Linked DNA regions of Homo sapiens: all the other regions are linked to region 1. The links are contacts of gene promoters, found by promoter capture Hi-C in blood cells and fetal thymus (Javierre and others, 2016). All regions are on one chromosome and are shown on one strand. Each heading gives the region's core, a stretch centred on a gene start or on the middle of the fragment in contact. The rest is flanking DNA. Distances are from core to core; before and after follow the strand shown.

Region 1 (2,605 bases), core at 70-2,569:
CAGTGTACCACCTTAGAGGAGCCAGGGGCGCGTGGGAAACACAGAGTCCCTTGTTCTCTCCGAAGTGGGACCCTGACTTTAAGCAGTCGCAGCTGTTTGCAGTTCTAGATACAGGAGTTACAGCTGGAGGCTGAGCTCTCTCAACGGAGGAAGCAGCGGCATGAGGGCCTTTGCAGAAGGAGCTGACGGGGCACTGGGGTGGCAAGCCCCGTGGGCCAGGAAAGAAACCAGCTCCAGGTCAATTTGCTCGGGCTGGATTTGTTTCAGTAAAACTACTTGTAGACAAGACACAGGGCGAAGAGAAAAGCAACTGTAAACTAACTGTGAAACAAGGAAACAGAAGAGAGGCCAGAAAACCGTTTCCTAAATCTCGGCTTGGCATCTGGTGCTGGACCACAGCCGCTGCCAAACAGATGGGGGAAGCACCCTCCCTGAGCCCCAGAGCCTACACGTCGGGCCCCAGCGGCTCTAGCCATTGCCTCCTCTTTGCTTGGGTCCCCAAGTTCACTGTTAACCCCAGGGCCAGGAGCCAGCCTTGGCCCCAGACATTTGTTCTCCATTGTCCTGAGCACAACGCTGAAAAGCGGCGCTGAATAAGGATGCTGGGACGCAAAGAGGGCGCCCGGGGTCATCTGGAGCCCTGGAGGCTAAGCTCGGCAGCCTGGCGCCCCGAGTGGCTTCGAGTCCCCGCGACCGCCGCCAGGCCCGGCCACCTCCTTGCCACCTCCCTGCGTCCCGGGGAACCCACGCAGGGGGGCGCGAGGGAGGGGCTCGGGGACGGGCGGGGCCCGCACAGCCGGGCCAACCCAGCGGGGGTCGGCAGGAGACAAGGGGCGGCGAGGGCAGGGGGGCGGGGAGACTCGGGGCATGGCGGGGTGGAGGCGGGAAAGTGTCGAGGCCGGGGAATCCGCGCGTGGGGAGGTGGGCATCGCCAGGGCGACGATGAGCTTTCCTTAGGGGGCGGCGCCTGAAGCTGGCCGGGACCCGGTGGACCCCCACGACTCTCCCGGCCCTTGCCCGCGGCTCCCGGGGGGCGGGGCGGGGCGCCCCGGGCGGGGTCTGTGCGCAGGCGCGTGAGTGCGCGCTCTCGCGCACCGGCGGGCGGGGACGCCCCGTGAGGCGCCGCCGGAGGAAGCGCGCGCGCACCTCACTTCCGGCGCGCGCTGCGCCGGCGGCGATTGGACCCGAGGCGGCGAGCTGGCGCCCCGCCCAGCCAATCGGCGGCGCCGGCGCGGGTCGGAGGGCGCCGGGCGCGCGCGGGGCGGCCGGGGGCGCGCGGGGCGCGGGCGGGGCGCCGGGCGGGGCGGGGCGGAGCGGCCGCAGCTCGTCGCCGCCCGCGGGCCTGTCCGACGCCGGGGCCCGGCCCGTCCCCTCCGCCGCCCGGCAGCCATGTGACCGCGCCGCCGCCCTCCGCGCGCCCGGCCCGCCCGCCGCGCGTCCGCGGCCCGGCCGCAGCCCCAGGCCGCCGAGGGAGCGGCGGGGCCGGCGCCATGGCCGAGCGAGGCCGCCTCGGCCTCCCCGGCGCGCCCGGCGCGCTCAACACGCCCGTGCCCATGAACCTGTTCGCCACCTGGGAGGTGGACGGCTCCAGCCCCAGCTGCGTGCCCAGGTACGCGCCGCCCGCCGCGCTTTGTTCCCGCCGGGCACCTGCTGGGGGTGTCCTGGCCGCGGCCTCTGCGCGCCCCATCCCCGGCCCGGGTCCCCCAGCGGAGCCCAGGTCGCCCCCCGCGCCCCCGCCCGCCGGTTCGACGCGTGCAGCCGCCGCCCCCCCGCAGCTCCGGCAAGCGCGGCCCCAGCCCCCCAGGTCCCGAGCACCGGGGGCCGCGCTCAGCTTCCGAGGACCCGGTGCTGCTCAGACCCGGCGGGACCTTGGGGCTCCCGGGCGGCGCTCACCTGGCTCGCCGCAACCGCACCTGCACACCTGCCTCAATGCGGTGCCGGCCGGGGTGACGAGGGTGCTTCCTCTCTCGGGTACCACACGCTTCCTTTCGCGTTCGGCGACACTGTCAGACCTCGGCCTGGGAGCGACCCCCGGCGCACGGGGCGCGCAGGACTCGGTTGTATCCTCCGTCCAGCGCGCGGTGGAGATGCCCTGTCCTGCGGGGCGGGGTCGTCCTCGCGGGTACCTGGTTGGCGCTGTCTCTCATTTAGAGGCGTCGCCAAGCCAGTACTGCTATTTGCGCCTCCCAGTTGATCTTGCCATTGCGGAAGACTGGCTGTTCTGCACTTGGTAGGGGGGCGCCCGGTCGCCCAGCGGTAACGATTGGACAGGGTTTACCCTCCGGCCATAGCCCAGCCTTCCTTGGACTTGCAGCTTCCCTGAGTCTCCTGCTCAGTTTGAAACTTTTGTAATTTCTTCGTGACTTGGTAGTTCCTGCTCAGGAAGCTCCCAGGCTAAGGAGGAGAGAGACACGCTCTCCGGAAAAGTTCTGGTTCTAGAATAGACAGCAGGCGAGAAGAGGAGGCGGTTGGGGGTAGTGAGAGTTCTCCCTGGGGAGATGGGAGGGTGAGCGGACCTTCCAGGCACTGGAAGTGGCCAGTATGCCTGGAGGGGACCCCACGTGGCATTGAGTTGTTCCACCCCTAGTCAGCTGCAGGTGGGCCT
Region 2 (2,605 bases), core at 106-2,605, 240 kb before region 1:
TTCTTGGTGATATCTGTGTCTTCATCACGTGCTGGTTGCACGGGTGTTTAGGTAGGAACTCTCTGTGGAGCTGTGGGCATGACTGTGTCTGTGTCTTCAGTAGAGTTGAGAGGTTTGAGAGCAGTCATGAGGATTAACAGCAGATACCAGGAGGCTGCTCGCTGGTCCTGTCAACACGGCCATGTAGTCAGGATGCCAGCTCCCCCACCAAGTCAACTTTGGGGAGCTTGGCAGAGCCGTGACTCCAGGAGGCATCCCTGGACTCTCGAAGCCCCCTGCTGTGTGTGTGTCAGGGGGCTCTGAGCCCAGTGAGTGGCTGTCCCTGGGGCAGGCAGGGGGCACTTGAGGTGCCACAGAGGACACGGACCGTAGGAACCACGAGAGGGGCGGATGGCCCAGAGCCAGGGTGTGGATGACTGCCCTGGGCAGCTGGGGTCGGGAGGCAGCCTTTTCACTTCAATGAGAATGGTGTGCAGCTGGGATGGGACAGCCTCTCAGAAGGAGAGAAGGGACGTAACAGAAAGGTATGGTGGGGACACCAGAAAGCAGAGGTGCGGACAGGGCACTCCCTTGCTCTCACACCTGTGGGATCATCCCATCCCTGGCCGGCTCCAGCTCTGCCCACATTTCTCATTCCTCCTTTGGGTCTCATCAGAGTCCCCGCATCCCGCAGGAAGTGCCCCCACAGGCAGGCCTGGGTGGAGCTGGGTAGTCTTCCTCTGTGTCCCCCTCACCGCCCCCGCTTCCCAGCTCCAAGCAGGAGGCTATGTCCCTGCCGCCTCTGCCCCTACAAATGGACGGTTGCCAGCTGAAGGAATGAGCCCAATCCCGGCTCCTGCTCCCTGCCCGTGGGATCTGGGCAAGCTGCCGGACACTTTGGGCCTCAGTTTCCCCCTTACAATGTCTGCCTTTTTGTGGGGTCCTTGGGAGCTCCCTGTTGTTGGTTACACCAGTGGAGTGGACAGAGGCTCAGCCTAAGGGTGTTTCCAGAAAGGCCATCTGCTGGAGGGGGGCTGGGAGCATCCCTGGAGACAGAGAGCTTTAGACTAGCTGCTGGGGTGGGTGCGGTGGTGGGAGTGGAGCTGCTGGGGGCAGAAAAAGGGGCTTCCAAGGGGCATGCGGGTTCTGGCAAGCTGAATCCCTCACCGTAAACCATGCACCTGTCCAAGTGAAGAACTGCTCCAGGGCTCGCCTGGGCCAAGAAGGGGCTGCAGGGCACCCTACGAGGCCATGGTGGCTAAAGATAGGCTGAGCAAGCCAAGGGCCCTAAGCCGGCAGCCAAGGGTGGCCTGGGGGCTGCAGTGGGGGCCTGGGGGCTGCAGAGCCGGCCCCCAGCCTCTCTCCACCTCTGGCCTCTCAGCTCCCTGAGGGTGGTGTCCACGGCCAGCTGCTCTCCCCTCAGGGTGGAAGACCTGGGGAAGCCCCCAGTCTCAAGCTACAGCCTTGATTTCTGGAACAATCCCAGGACAGGACTCTGGCCCATCAGGTTCTGCAGCCCACCCTGGGCAGAGTGGCTCCTCTTCTGGGCAGCCCATACCTAGTGTGGTCGAGGCTGGGTTGCCCAGGCCTGGCCAGACGAATCTGGGTCCTTGTGTCCAGCTGGGCCTCGGAGCCTGCCACGCCCCCGGCACCACCACCCCCCTAATAAACTCCCCTTCCTCTACCTGTTTCCTCCACCAGCCTCTGGGTCTTGCTCCCTGCCAGGGTCCAACTCACAGCCACCTCCGCCACTGCTCCCGCGGTGACCATGCGTCCACGGCCCCCCAGGACCATGCTTGTCATTCTCTTGCCCTCTCTGCTTGGCGCGGGGTTTGGCTGCAGTCTGGGCTGCTCGATGCTCCCGGGGCAGGGGCTATTCCCCTGTGGTCTCAAGCTCTGGGCTGGCAGGGGATGCTCCGAGAACCCATCTGTTACCTGGAGGGTCCAGGAGAGATTGAAGCAGGTCCCTGGGGGCTTCCCAGAGCTGGGCTCCTGGCTGTCCCCTCTCTGGGGACTGTCACTCCCAGCTCTCCTCTCTAGGAACTGGTGGGGAGGAAGACCCTGCAGCAGTGGGAGGCCAAGGTTGGGGGGTCCACCCTCAGTGTGGGGTGTGGGTGGCTCTCTGGGGTAAGGGCTTGGTATCATGTGGCCCCCTGAACCCCAGAGCTGGCCCCTGAAAATTCTCCTCAACCGCAGAGTACACCCCTCCACCTGCAGCTCAGGGCCCCTGCCCCGAAGCTCACCCTCCTCAGAGACCCTCCCCTGGGGCCCCAAGGAAGGGCTGGGCCTGGTGGGGGCTGCATCCTTCTCATTGCCCTTCACAGCGTGGGGGGCTGATCCCCTTTGGAATGCACTTCCCTAGGGAACCCGCCTCGAGCCTGGCTGTCCCCCCAACCCCTGTGGAGCTGGGCCTTGGGGCGTGTCCACTCGCCCTGTATCTGCTCCTGCCCCCGGCGGTCCCTGGTCTCCACTGACCATCCTTTTTCGTCCCTGGGGGGGTAGCAGCAGCAGGCAAACCCCGGCCGAACAGTCCCTGTGACACTCCTTGAGGGCCTGGAGCCAGCTGGAGCCAACAGGTGCCACATCCAGGGCCAGCTTCCAGGACTCAGGAAGGAGCGACGTGCAG
Region 3 (2,605 bases), core at 58-2,557, 220 kb after region 1:
TGATTAGACCCGTGGTACAACAGCGGACCAGAGCTGGAGAGGTGAGTAATGCCCGGGGGTCTGCATTTTCTGTCTGCACTCCCACTGCCCTGCAGCACCTGCGGGCCCACAGCACTCGCCCGGCTGAAGGTGACCTAAGGTGACCGACTCACTTTTACTCATTGCTTATGAAATAAGCTGAATGTGGAGATCATCGGAAACATGTTTCAAAGTGCGTGAGCCTTGAGGAAAGCTTTCTCCCGCCCTCATGAGTATCCGCCCCAGGGGGTGCTTTCCTCGAGAGCTGGTCCGTGTTGCGTTCCCACAGTGAACACTTTCAAGGCTGCTGCGGGAAGTTGCACAGAAACGGCTGGTGGGCCTGGAGGGGATGGTGAGGCGCAGTGGGCCTGTGTACCGGATGCCAAATCCACAGCATGGGAGGCAGGGCCCACTGCAGGAGCCACACAGCAGCTGTGTGCTGCTCTCCCACCTGCAACCTGCACCTGTGGGGTGCACCTGAGTGACCCCGGCCCCCCGGGGTGTCTCTGGGATGCCTCCTAGGAGGAGAGGCTCCACGCCTGGAGGGAGACAGGTATCACACAGGTGCGTGGGGTGGAGTGTGATGCAGGGAGGTTGGGGCAGGGCCACACAGAGAGACCCCACTCAGGCAGGCCTTGGGTCAGGGTAGGCCTCACCAAGTGATATTATGTTGGGACTGGACCGTGGCCAAGGCTGGCCTGCAGGCAGGGGGCACACATATTCCTGGCAGGTGAGGCTGCCCACAAAGCTCACCTGCCTGAGAACCCTACCTGGCTGGGGCATGCGGGAGCCTCTGGACCTTCGCGCCGGCGGAGCCTGCAGTGTCGCCAGATGGCCACAAGGGGGCTCCCGAGCCCGGCTCTGGGTCCCTTTGAGGAGGGAGCCGCGGGACCCGGCTGTGAGACCGGGACCTGCCAGTGGTGCCCCGACCCCCCGACCCCACAGGACCCTGCGCGGCCAAAGGCTGAGGCTGCCCCAGCCCCAGGCTGTGCTGATGCCCCTGACCAGAACCCGAGCCCGATTCTGCTCACTGAACACTCATCTGCTCCCTTGCCTCTGCCTGCCCCGGCAGCGAGGGCCTGGCCAGTGGGTTCGTATCAACTCCCACGTCACCTCCCGTGTCATCTGTGTGTCACCTCCATGTCACCTCCTGCATCAGCTGTGTCACCTCCCACATCACCTGCATCAGCTGTGTCACCTCCCACATCCCCTGCATCAGCTCTGTGTCACCTCCCACATCACCTGCATCAGCTCTGTGTCACCTCCCGCATCACCTGCATCAGCTCTGTGTCACCTCCCGCATCACCTGCATCAGCTCTGTGTCACCTCCCGCATCACCTCCTGCGCCACCTTTGTGTCACCTCCCGGCTGACCATGGCCCAGCAGCATCTCCCTGTTGCAGCGTCCGGAGAGGCTGCGGTTGCACGGGGTGGGCTAAGGAAGGTGGGGCTGCCTCAGCCTGGGCCCTGAGTGAGCTCTGGAGTGGATCCCACCTCCCCACCAAAGCCCAAGCAGGAGACAACCCTTTGCTGCTGAAGCCACTGAGCGCTTGGGGCTGTTTGTTTCGGCCTCGTCCCCGACGGACGTGTCTCCCACAGTCCCAGGCCCTGAGTGCAGGTCCACACTGAACCTTGACGCTCATCGCAGACTGACCCTGGCTTGCCCTGGGTCACACTCGGGCTGAGGCCCCGACAGCCTGGCCCGGTCGAAGCTCCCCGGCTTATCTCACTCACTGTTGTCCAGGGCCCAGCCTCACGGTGACATCTGCCACAAGAAGGCTGGGACTCTGTCCCACTTGTGTTCAGGAACGAGAGACCCTGACTTGGTGTCTGTTATCAACACATTACAAACATCACTGGGCATTACAAAAGATTTCTGAGGGCTGGGTGCTGTGGCTCACCCCTGCAATCCCAGCACTTTGGGAGGCTGAGGTGGGAGGAGGATTGCTTGAGCCCAGGAGTTTGAGACCAGCCTGGGCAATGTAGTGAGACCTTGTCTCTAAAAAAATTTTAAAAATTAGCCAGGCATGGTTGCGCGTGCCTGTGGTCCCAGCTACTCAGGAGGCTGAGGCAGGAGGATCACCTGAGCCCAGGAGGTCAAGGCTACAGCAAGCAGAGATGGTGCCACTGCACTCCAGCCTGGACAACATAGCAAGACCCTGTCTCAAGAAAACCCACACAAAACACAAAGAAAGAAATAAAAATCCAGATTTCAAATAATTTAAACTTATTTATCCAACACAAAGCAGTTCTTCATGGCACACTTTAAACTTCGAAATTCTTTGCTCTCCCCATGCTTGGCTGATTGGGTCTGGGGCAGGCGATGGTGCTCACTGGATCCAGTTTCTGACAAATCTGGATTGAGACAAGCTTCAGAACTGGCCCAGATGATCAATTTTCATATAAGTTAAGGTGTCCTCCTTGTTCCACAGCTTTTAGTGATTTTTTTTTGTTTTTTTTTTTTGAGACGGAGTCTTGCTTTCTCGCCAGGCTGGAGTGCAGTGGTGCGATCTTGGCTCATTGCAACCTCCGCCTCCTGGGTTCAAGCGATTCTCCTGCCTCAGCCTTCTGAGTAGCCGGGAGTACAG
Region 4 (2,605 bases), core at 60-2,559, 190 kb before region 1:
CCAAGATCACTCTGTGGTTCAACAATTTACCAGAAGGGCCCACAGAACTCACTGAAAGCTGTTATACTCGTGTTTATGGTTGATTACAGCAAAAAGATACGGATTAAAAGCAGCCAAAGGAAGAGACACTGGGGTCAGGGGCCAGCAGACACCATGTGCAAGCTTCTAGGTGTCCTCTCCCTACAGAGCTGTAGATGGTGTGACTTCTTGGTATTGATGTGTGACAGTCTGCATGGAGTATGGCCAAGCAGGGAAGCTCACTTGAGCCTCAGTGTCCAAAGTCTTTATTGGACTCCATGGTTGATTGCCTTTGTGGCCAACCTCAGTCTCTGGTCCCTCTGGACATTAGGCAATCCCATGTGACCTGAGACTCCCACCATAAATCACATTGTAAGCGTAGACTCTCTGGTGTGGCCCAAAACCTCCACAGAAACAAAGACCCTCTTATTAGGCTGGACATCCTAAGGACCTGGAGATTAGCACCCAGGAGCTGAAGGCAAAGACCGGACTTCCTGTTGGGCAAGGTTAAAAATCTGTACCACTCACCTGTCAAGCAAAGGAAGGCCAGTCTACAAAGGAAGGCCAGTGTAGACACAGTCTACACAGGGGAGGAGAGGCTACTTTGCTAGCCAGGGAGTCTGGAGGGCGGTTGGAAGTTCAAGTTCATCAGACTCATTCCAACCCAGGTAATATTCTCATTCTGATTCTCAGGACCCTATTCTTCTCCAGATGATGCAAACTTTCACATACATGACCTGGTGAGGCTCTAGATTCAGCTTTCCTTGGACTTCTGCAACCTCCAAGGCCAATTTGGGGTGACTTTCAACTAAGTCAGTGCTGAGGCTACACGAGGTAAGTGGTTAGGGCCACGATAGATGCTCCATTTTTGGTCATTTGTAAATGAAGACGTTTGGCAATAGGATTGGCACTGACTTTCATTAAGTTCCCCAGTGCAGGCATCAGCAGCTGCCCAATCCTCATTCCTCATAGTCATCATTCACACCTGTGCTAAAAAGGTGAGAGCAATGGCCACATTTCTTCACCATCCCCGGATCCACACTCTGTACCACGTGGCCTTGCAATGCTTCCTACCAACAGGGGTAGTCTCTTTCCCCATGTCTTGTATCTGGTGCGTGGACCCCAGAACTGTGTCCACAGAGTGTGTTAGACACGTCACGTAACAGTCCCAGGACTGGATCTCAAGACCCCTTGAGCAAGTGCAGTCCTGTCCACTGAAAATTACAAAATGTTGTTGAAAGAAGATCTAAATGGAGAGACATCCCATGTTCATGGATTGGGCAACTCAACACGGTTAAGATAGCGATAATTCCCACATTCATCTACAGATTGATTGTGGTCCTTACCAAAATTCCAGCTGGCTTTATTTTGTTTTGTTTTGTTTGCTTTCCTAGAAATTGGCATGCCAATAAAGTACCCCAAATAGCCAATATAATCTTTAAAAAAGGTCAAAGCTGGAAGACTCACACGTCCTAATTTCAAAACTTACTACAAAGCCACAGTAATCAAGACAATGTGGTACTAGAAATATGATAGACATACAGATAAACGGAAAAGAACTGAAAATCCATAAGTAATCTTTTACATTTATGGTCAATCGATTTTTCAACAAGGAGCCAGCCCAGAGAATGCAAGAAAACACTCAAATCTTATATATTCCCTAAAGGACTTATATTAACAATATGTGTTGCCTGTATCATACAACTAAGTAAGAAGACAAACATCCCAATTTAAAATGGCTGAAAGATTTGAAGAGCTATTTCTCCAAAGGACATATTCAGATGCTTTCAGAAATGCTTGGCAACATTAGTTAATAGAGAAATGCAAATTATAACCACAAGATACCACTAGGCACACCCTGGGGTGCCTGTAATCAGAAAGACGGATAAGAGTTGGAGAGGCTGTGGAGAAGCTGGAACCCTCGCGCATTGGTAACAGGAATGGAAAATGGTGCAGCAACTGCTTTGGAGACAGTTTGGCAGGTTCTTGGATTGTTAAACATAGAGTCACCATATGGCCCAGCAATCCCACTCCTAGGTATCCACCCAAGAGAAATGGAAACATATCTGCACATAGAAACTTGTACATGAATATTTATAGCAGCTTTATTCATAGTAGCCTCCAAACTGGAAATAACCCAAGTGTCTATCCACTGGTGAATGGAGAAACAGTGTGGTCTATTCATGCAGTGGGATATGATATGGCAATAAAAAGGAACAAAGTTCTGATACATGGAATAACATCACATTATGCTGAGTGGAAGCCATCAGACACAAAAGACCACAGATCTTGTGATCCCACTGATACAAAATGTCTGGAAAAGGCAAATCTACAGAGACAGGAAATGAATGGAATGGTTCAGTCCCCGGGGACCATGGGTGGGAACAGGGAGTGACTGCAAGGGTGTGCAGCCTCCTTTTGGGGTGACGGAGGTGTTCTAAGCTTAGCGTCGTTACCATTGCATGACTCTCCATTTGTGAAAAGTAATTGAATTGTATGCCAGAAATGAGTGCATTTTATCAGACGGGATCAGGCGCGTTCAGGGTGGTATGGCCGTAGATAAGAGTGTATTTTATGGTATGTGAAA
Region 5 (2,605 bases), core at 44-2,543, 160 kb after region 1:
CAGCCCACAGCCTCCAAGACACAGGGGGAAGGGTGTCCAGAGTCAGCTGCCCCCATAGGGCCTGATCACTGGGCTTCTGGGATCTGCCTGTCTCCCAGGCCGACGCTCAGCTGGGGCCAGAAGGCTCAGAGAAGGGCCCATGGGGACAGAGCACCAGGAAGCCCGTGGGTGCGGAGGTTCCCCACCTGGGGCCAGGCTCTACGGGGCTCTAGGGCGGAGGCACTGTGGTGAGGCGTGGTCAGGCACGCCCTGGTTGGGAGGAGGCCAGAGTGGGGGTGTGGGGGTGCGGTGACTGGCATGACCCCTCAATCTCCCGCCTGACCCCTCGAGGTCAGGCCCTGGGCCCCCAGGCACGCAGCTGGTCCTGGGCGGTGCGGGAGAAGGGACTGGAGTGTCAGCCCCAGCCCGGGGCACAGAGGGCACGCCCACTCCTTCCCCTCCTTCCCTTCCTAACTCCTCACCGCCTCCCCGGCCGCCCCCTGGGTGGAAGTGCTTGGGGTGGACGCCTTAAGCGCGGATCCCTCGGCGCTGGTGCCCGCCGCCCCTTCCCTGCCTGGGAGGCAGACGCAGACCTCCCCACACCCCCTACCAGCAGCTTCTCGAGCTGTTTCTGGAGGTGGCGGCGCCTTCCTTCCTGAGCCCTGCCCTCCACCCAAGGAGCCTTCAGCACCACAGACAGTGTTGGGGCGGGGCGCGGGCGGGGGCGGAGCGGGACATGGAGACCCGGACAGGGCTGGGGGCCGTGCCCGCCGGGAATCTGACTCCGCTCCCGCGGCGCGGCTGTTGCTATGGAAACCGAGCAACAAAGGGAAGCGGGACAGGCGCCGCGCGCGGCGGGGTGGGGGTGGGGTTCTCCCGGAGCCTGCGACCCCTTCCCGCGGCGGAGCGCAGCCTGGGCGCCCAGGGCCGGGAGTGTTGGACCCCTAGGCCCAAGTCACTAGGGCTCCCCGAGAGCCGAGGGCCAGGCTCCCCGCACCCTGCCCGCCGCCCCGGGGACGGCCCGGCCAGGCGGCCCCGACGTCGCCATGGAAACAGCCGGGGCGCGGGCGGCGCCGCGGTCGCCCGGGCGGGCCCCTGTAGACGCCACCTCCGGCGCGAGGGGCCCGGGGGCGCCAGGCCTGGCCCGGCTGCCCCGCACCCGCCACCCCCGGCAGGTGCGCCCCGCCCCCGCGGCGCCCCCAGGCGGCCCCCAGCCCGGGGGACGGGTTATCGAGGCCCCGCCCCGGCCGCGGAGCCAATGGGCGCGCGGACAGCCGGGCAGGCGGGGCTGGGCGCGGGCGGCGGCGGCCCGGAGGAGAACGGGCGGAGGGCGCGGGCCGACCGGGCGCACCGACCATGGCCTCCAAATGCCCCAAGTGCGACAAGACCGTGTACTTCGGTGAGTGCGTGCCCGCTCCCGGCCCGCTCGGTGCATCCCGCCGCCCTTCGCGGCCAGTCCCGCGCCGCAGAGCCGCGGCGTAACTCGGGGTGCGCCCGGCCCCGGCCCCGGACCGAGGATGCGCGTCCCGGAGGCTGGCTGGCCGCGCTGCCCAAGCGGCTAAAGCCAAAGGGTGGGGCTGCGCGAAAGCGGGGGCGGTCACGCCCGAACCCCGAAGCGGCTTGTGGGGGCGGGGCAGGGACCACCCGGGCGGGGCTTGTGGTGCCCCGGGATGAGGCCAGTGTTTGGGGGAGCGCTCGGGGATCCGCGGACGCATCCCGGTTCCTCGGACGGCGCCGGGCGGGGCGGGGCAGGGCGTGGCTGTACGCCCCGGGTGCGTCCCGCGCGCTCCCGTGGGCCTGGGCCCTTTCTCCTGGACCCCCTACACCCGCTTCCCCCGGGAACAAGTGGCCGGGAACAGTGACCCCCAGCTCCCACTCCGGGCTCCGCTGAGCTGGGCTGGGCCAGGTTTGGACTCTGTCGGGATTCAGTCCAAGCGGGGGCGACCTTGGCCTCTGCCTCCTGCTTGTCCCGACGCATTCCCTTGGCGCCAGTTCCCCCAGGAGTTTCACACGGGGGTAGGGTGGGGGCGGGTGTGACACGCGAGTTCCCGCGAACGTGAGAGGGACCTTGTGCTCAAGCAGCCCAGGTGTCCAGGATCCCTGCCTCCTCAAGGTCAGAACAGCCCTGGACAGGATGCAGGTGGTGGCGGGAAGAGGGATGTCTCGCAAGGCGGCCCTCGGTCTAGCCCCTCCGGCAGGCGCGCTCCCCCCGTCTGGGCTTACTCACTCTCTGGGCCTGGGTGCGCCCTTCCTACCCCCTTCCTCCTGGCTGATTCGCTGCCCAGCTTTCTCCAGGGTGGTAAGGTCCCTGCCCACCTACCCACCAGCTGCTGCACGAAGGGGGGCAGACTTAGTGAAGCAGAGAGGAGGGCCGGGACCAACAGGGCGCCTGCCCTGGTCGCCCCATACCCAGAATGCGGCCAGGCTGCAGGGAAGGCCGCCACTGGGCTTCCCCGGCTCACAGGCTGGAGGGGGTTGAGGGGAGGTTGTATTTTGCCCGTCCCAGAGGGGAGGGACCGGATTTGGCCTGGAGTGCTTCTGGCGTGGCTGGGAGCCGAGGGGCTTCCGGCTGCCTCTCCTGGAGCCCGCTCAGCCCTCAGTCTCTGTCCCAGCGAGGGCTGTCTCT
Region 6 (2,605 bases), core at 43-2,542, 130 kb before region 1:
TGTCCAGGCCGGGCGCGGTGGCTCATGCCTGTAATCCCAGCACTTTGGGAGGCCGAGGCAGGCAGATCACGTGATGTCAAGAGTTCGAGACCAGCCTGGACAACATGGTGAAACCCTGTCTCTACTAAAAGCCAGCCGTGGTGGTGTGTGCTTGTAATCCCAGCTTCTCGGGAGGCTGAGGCACGAGAATCGCTTGCACACGGGAGGGAGAGGTTGCGGTGAGCTGAGATCTTGACACTGCATTCCAGCCTGGGTGACAGAGTAAGACTCCATCAAGAAAGGCAAAGGCAAAGGCAAAGGCAAAGCAAGGCAAGGCAAGGCAGAGAAAGGGAGGGAGGGAGACAAAAAGCAAGAAAGAAAAAAGAAAATGTCCAGAACAGGTAAATCCATGAGACGGAAAAGCAGCTGCGGACTGGTGGGGCTGAGGGCGGGAGAATGAAGAATGCTGACTAATGGGTGCCGGCTTTCCTTTCCGTTTGGGGTGAAGAAGGCATTCTGGAAGCAGGCAGTGCTGGTGGCCGCACAGCAGTATGAATGTACTGAATGCCGCTCAGTGTGCACTGTGAAGTGTTTAATGTTCTGTGAATTTCAGTTCCATTTTAAACAAATTTTATTTAGAGATAGGGTCTCATGATGTGGCTCAGGCTGGACTTGAACTCCTGGCCCCAAGCAATTCCCCCACCTCGGCCTGCTGAGTAGCTGGGACTACAGGTTCACACTACCATGCCTGGCTCGGTTCAATTTTTTTTTTTTTAAAAAAAGGAAAAACCAGTGTCACTGAGGCTATTCAGGAACATTCCATGCTGTCTATGACCACAAGGCCACTGCCCACACGTGGAGCTGAGGACAGGGCAAGTGAGGCCTGCTGTCCCTCCGAGATGGAAAGGGAGAAAAGGCAGAAGCAGCCCAGGCACTTTACCAGTTCCTGCTGTGCACTGGGGTGGCTCGAACAGGTGATTCGGGGCAGGCCTGATGTCACAAGAAGTTAGGACAGGCATGCCAAGAGGCAGAGGACAGCCTCCCCGAGGACACGACACTCCCCAGAAACCCGAAGATCCAAGGCAGGAGAAAGGAAGCTGTCCTGGCAGGAGGAGACCGAGGCCAGAAGAGGCGTTGTGGCCCTGGGGGCAGCTCCCTTGGCCTGTGCTTGGCACATCCCCTGGGGCCACTGGAAGTCTCGGAGGGGTTGGGCAGGGCAGGTGGTCAGATGCCCCTCTGGGAGGTCACCGTGGCTGCCTGGGGCCGGGGGAGGAGGAGACTGGTCCGAGGGCCTTTGGCTGTTGTCCAGAGTGGTGGCTGTGCAGAGGATGGCTTCGTTCCCCATGGAAGCAGGTGCAGGAGGAGGAGGAGGAGCTTGATTTGGGGAGGGGCTCCAGGAGGGGGAATGAGAGGACTCCGTGTGGCCAGGTGGCCTGAGAGCCACAGTGGAGAGCTCTGAAAAGCCACCTCTGGCTTTGGCAGTGTGGAGGCTTCAAAGACCCTGCTGAGCATAGTGGCAGAGGCCCCTGCAGATGCCCTGTAGCGGGGCCAGAGGGCATGTGGGGTGAGAGCACCAGTGTCAGCTCCCCAGGGCTGCCAAGACAAACCACTGCCAACCCAGCAGCTGGGAACAGCACGGCCATGGCCTTCCAGCCCTGGGGGACGGGTGTCCAAAACGCATCCCACCGGGTGAAGGTCAAGGGTCACAGGGCGGCTCCTTCTGGGGGCTCCAGGGGAAGATCCATTCCTTGTCTTCTCCAGCTTCCGGAGGCGGCCCCCGCCCCCTCCTCACCTTCAAGGCCAGCAGAGCGCCCCTCCGTCCTCCCCCGACTCTGCCTCCGTCCTCGCGTCTCCACCCTCCTGCTCCCTCTTCTGAGGTCCTTGTGACCACAATTTAGGGCCCCCCCGGGTCATCCGGGGCCATCCGGGGCCATCTCCCACCTCGGGTCCTTCTGTTAGTCAAACCTGCTAAGTCCCCTTTGCCACAGAAGGTCCATACTCGCAGGTTCTGGGGATCCAGGTGTGGACTCTGGGGAGGATGCGTCGGGAGGGCATCACCACCAGGGCAGGACCCTGTGGCGCCAGGATCTGCAGCCTGGGGCCTCGCCCCGCAGCAAGTGGGCGGGTTTCTTGCAGGACACCTAGGAGACCGCTGTGGGCTTCTGTCCCCCTTCCTCTGTAAGGGGAGTGAGGCAAGGGCCCCTGCCAAGGATGAGATGGGAGGGGAGGGAGGCGAAGTGGCCCCTGTTGGCAGGGGGCTTGGGTGCGGGCTCCGAGGGGGCCTGGGGAGCAAGGCTTCCTGGTGGCACCGGGCTGGGGATGCTCCTGGGCCATGCTGGAGGCAGGGCAGGTACAAGGGGGGCCCCTGGGCTCCTCCATGGCTCAGCTCCTTCCCAGTAAGGTCACAGGCAGCAGGTGGATTGGAGAGTTGAGGACACTGAGCAGGGAGCTACAGGCATGACAGAGCCCAGGTGGGGGTGCGGGGGGTGGGGAGGACGTGGGGGAGTCAGGGGCGGGAGGGGTGCAGGAAAGCCAGGGGCGGGGATTCCGAGGTAAGTGCAGAGGGAGTGTCCCGAGAGAGGCTGAGTTGAGGGGAAGCTGGAGGAGGATCAGGATGGGGGGTCAG

Evidence for each region. Contacts are between HindIII fragments. The CHiCAGO score rates a contact against its expected background, and 5 or more counts as called.
Region 2: a contact is called between a fragment that was not itself captured here and the fragment with the promoter of PACS2 in region 1, in 8 of 17 cell types (naive CD4 T cells, monocytes, endothelial precursors and 5 more). The highest score is 7.8, in naive CD4 T cells.
Region 3: a fragment that was not itself captured here is called in contact with the fragment with the promoter of PACS2 in region 1 in 1 of 17 cell types (non-activated CD4 T cells); the score reaches 5.1 in non-activated CD4 T cells.
Region 4: a fragment that was not itself captured here is called in contact with the fragment with the promoter of PACS2 in region 1 in 1 of 17 cell types (endothelial precursors); the score reaches 6.2 in endothelial precursors.
Region 5: a contact is called between the fragment with the promoter of CRIP2 here and the fragment with the promoter of PACS2 in region 1, in 5 of 17 cell types (monocytes, naive CD8 T cells, neutrophils and 2 more). The highest score is 9.5, in monocytes.
Region 6: a fragment that was not itself captured here is called in contact with the fragment with the promoter of PACS2 in region 1 in 3 of 17 cell types (naive CD4 T cells, non-activated CD4 T cells and total CD8 T cells); the score reaches 6.6 in naive CD4 T cells.

The regions. Positions count from the first base shown.
Region 1 is chr14:105,313,429-105,316,033 of GRCh38, forward strand. PACS2 (phosphofurin acidic cluster sorting protein 2) reads left to right here and starts at 1,320. Exons shown (of 25, transcript NM_001100913.3): 1 at 1,320-1,609. The coding sequence starts at 1,491. It also overlaps a transcript of BRF1 not described here. RefSeq lists silencers at 682-771, 872-1,401, 1,542-1,631, 1,862-1,941 and an enhancer at 1,686-2,337. The HindIII fragment of the contact is 4,816 bases long and covers 1-2,605 here.
Region 2 is chr14:105,072,361-105,074,965 of GRCh38, forward strand. No RefSeq gene overlaps it. Among named protein-coding and RNA genes, the nearest start is that of GPR132, 8.2 kb to the left of the region's middle. The HindIII fragment of the contact is 5,655 bases long and covers 1-2,605 here.
Region 3 is chr14:105,537,186-105,539,790 of GRCh38, forward strand. It overlaps the pseudogene ATP5MC1P1. Among named protein-coding and RNA genes, the nearest start is that of TMEM121, 12 kb to the left of the region's middle. The HindIII fragment of the contact is 2,155 bases long and covers 231-2,385 here.
Region 4 is chr14:105,121,208-105,123,812 of GRCh38, forward strand. No RefSeq gene overlaps it. Among named protein-coding and RNA genes, the nearest start is that of MIR6765, 28 kb to the right of the region's middle. The HindIII fragment of the contact is 2,298 bases long and covers 161-2,458 here.
Region 5 is chr14:105,473,528-105,476,132 of GRCh38, forward strand. CRIP2 (cysteine rich protein 2) reads left to right here and starts at 1,294. Exons shown (of 8, transcript NM_001312.4): 1 at 1,294-1,378. The coding sequence starts at 1,336. RefSeq lists an enhancer at 1-268 and silencers at 297-346, 357-446, 537-686, 957-1,026, 1,207-1,316. The HindIII fragment of the contact is 47,861 bases long and covers 1-2,605 here.
Region 6 is chr14:105,183,429-105,186,033 of GRCh38, forward strand. No RefSeq gene overlaps it. Among named protein-coding and RNA genes, the nearest start is that of NUDT14, 3.4 kb to the left of the region's middle. The HindIII fragment of the contact is 4,988 bases long and covers 1-2,605 here.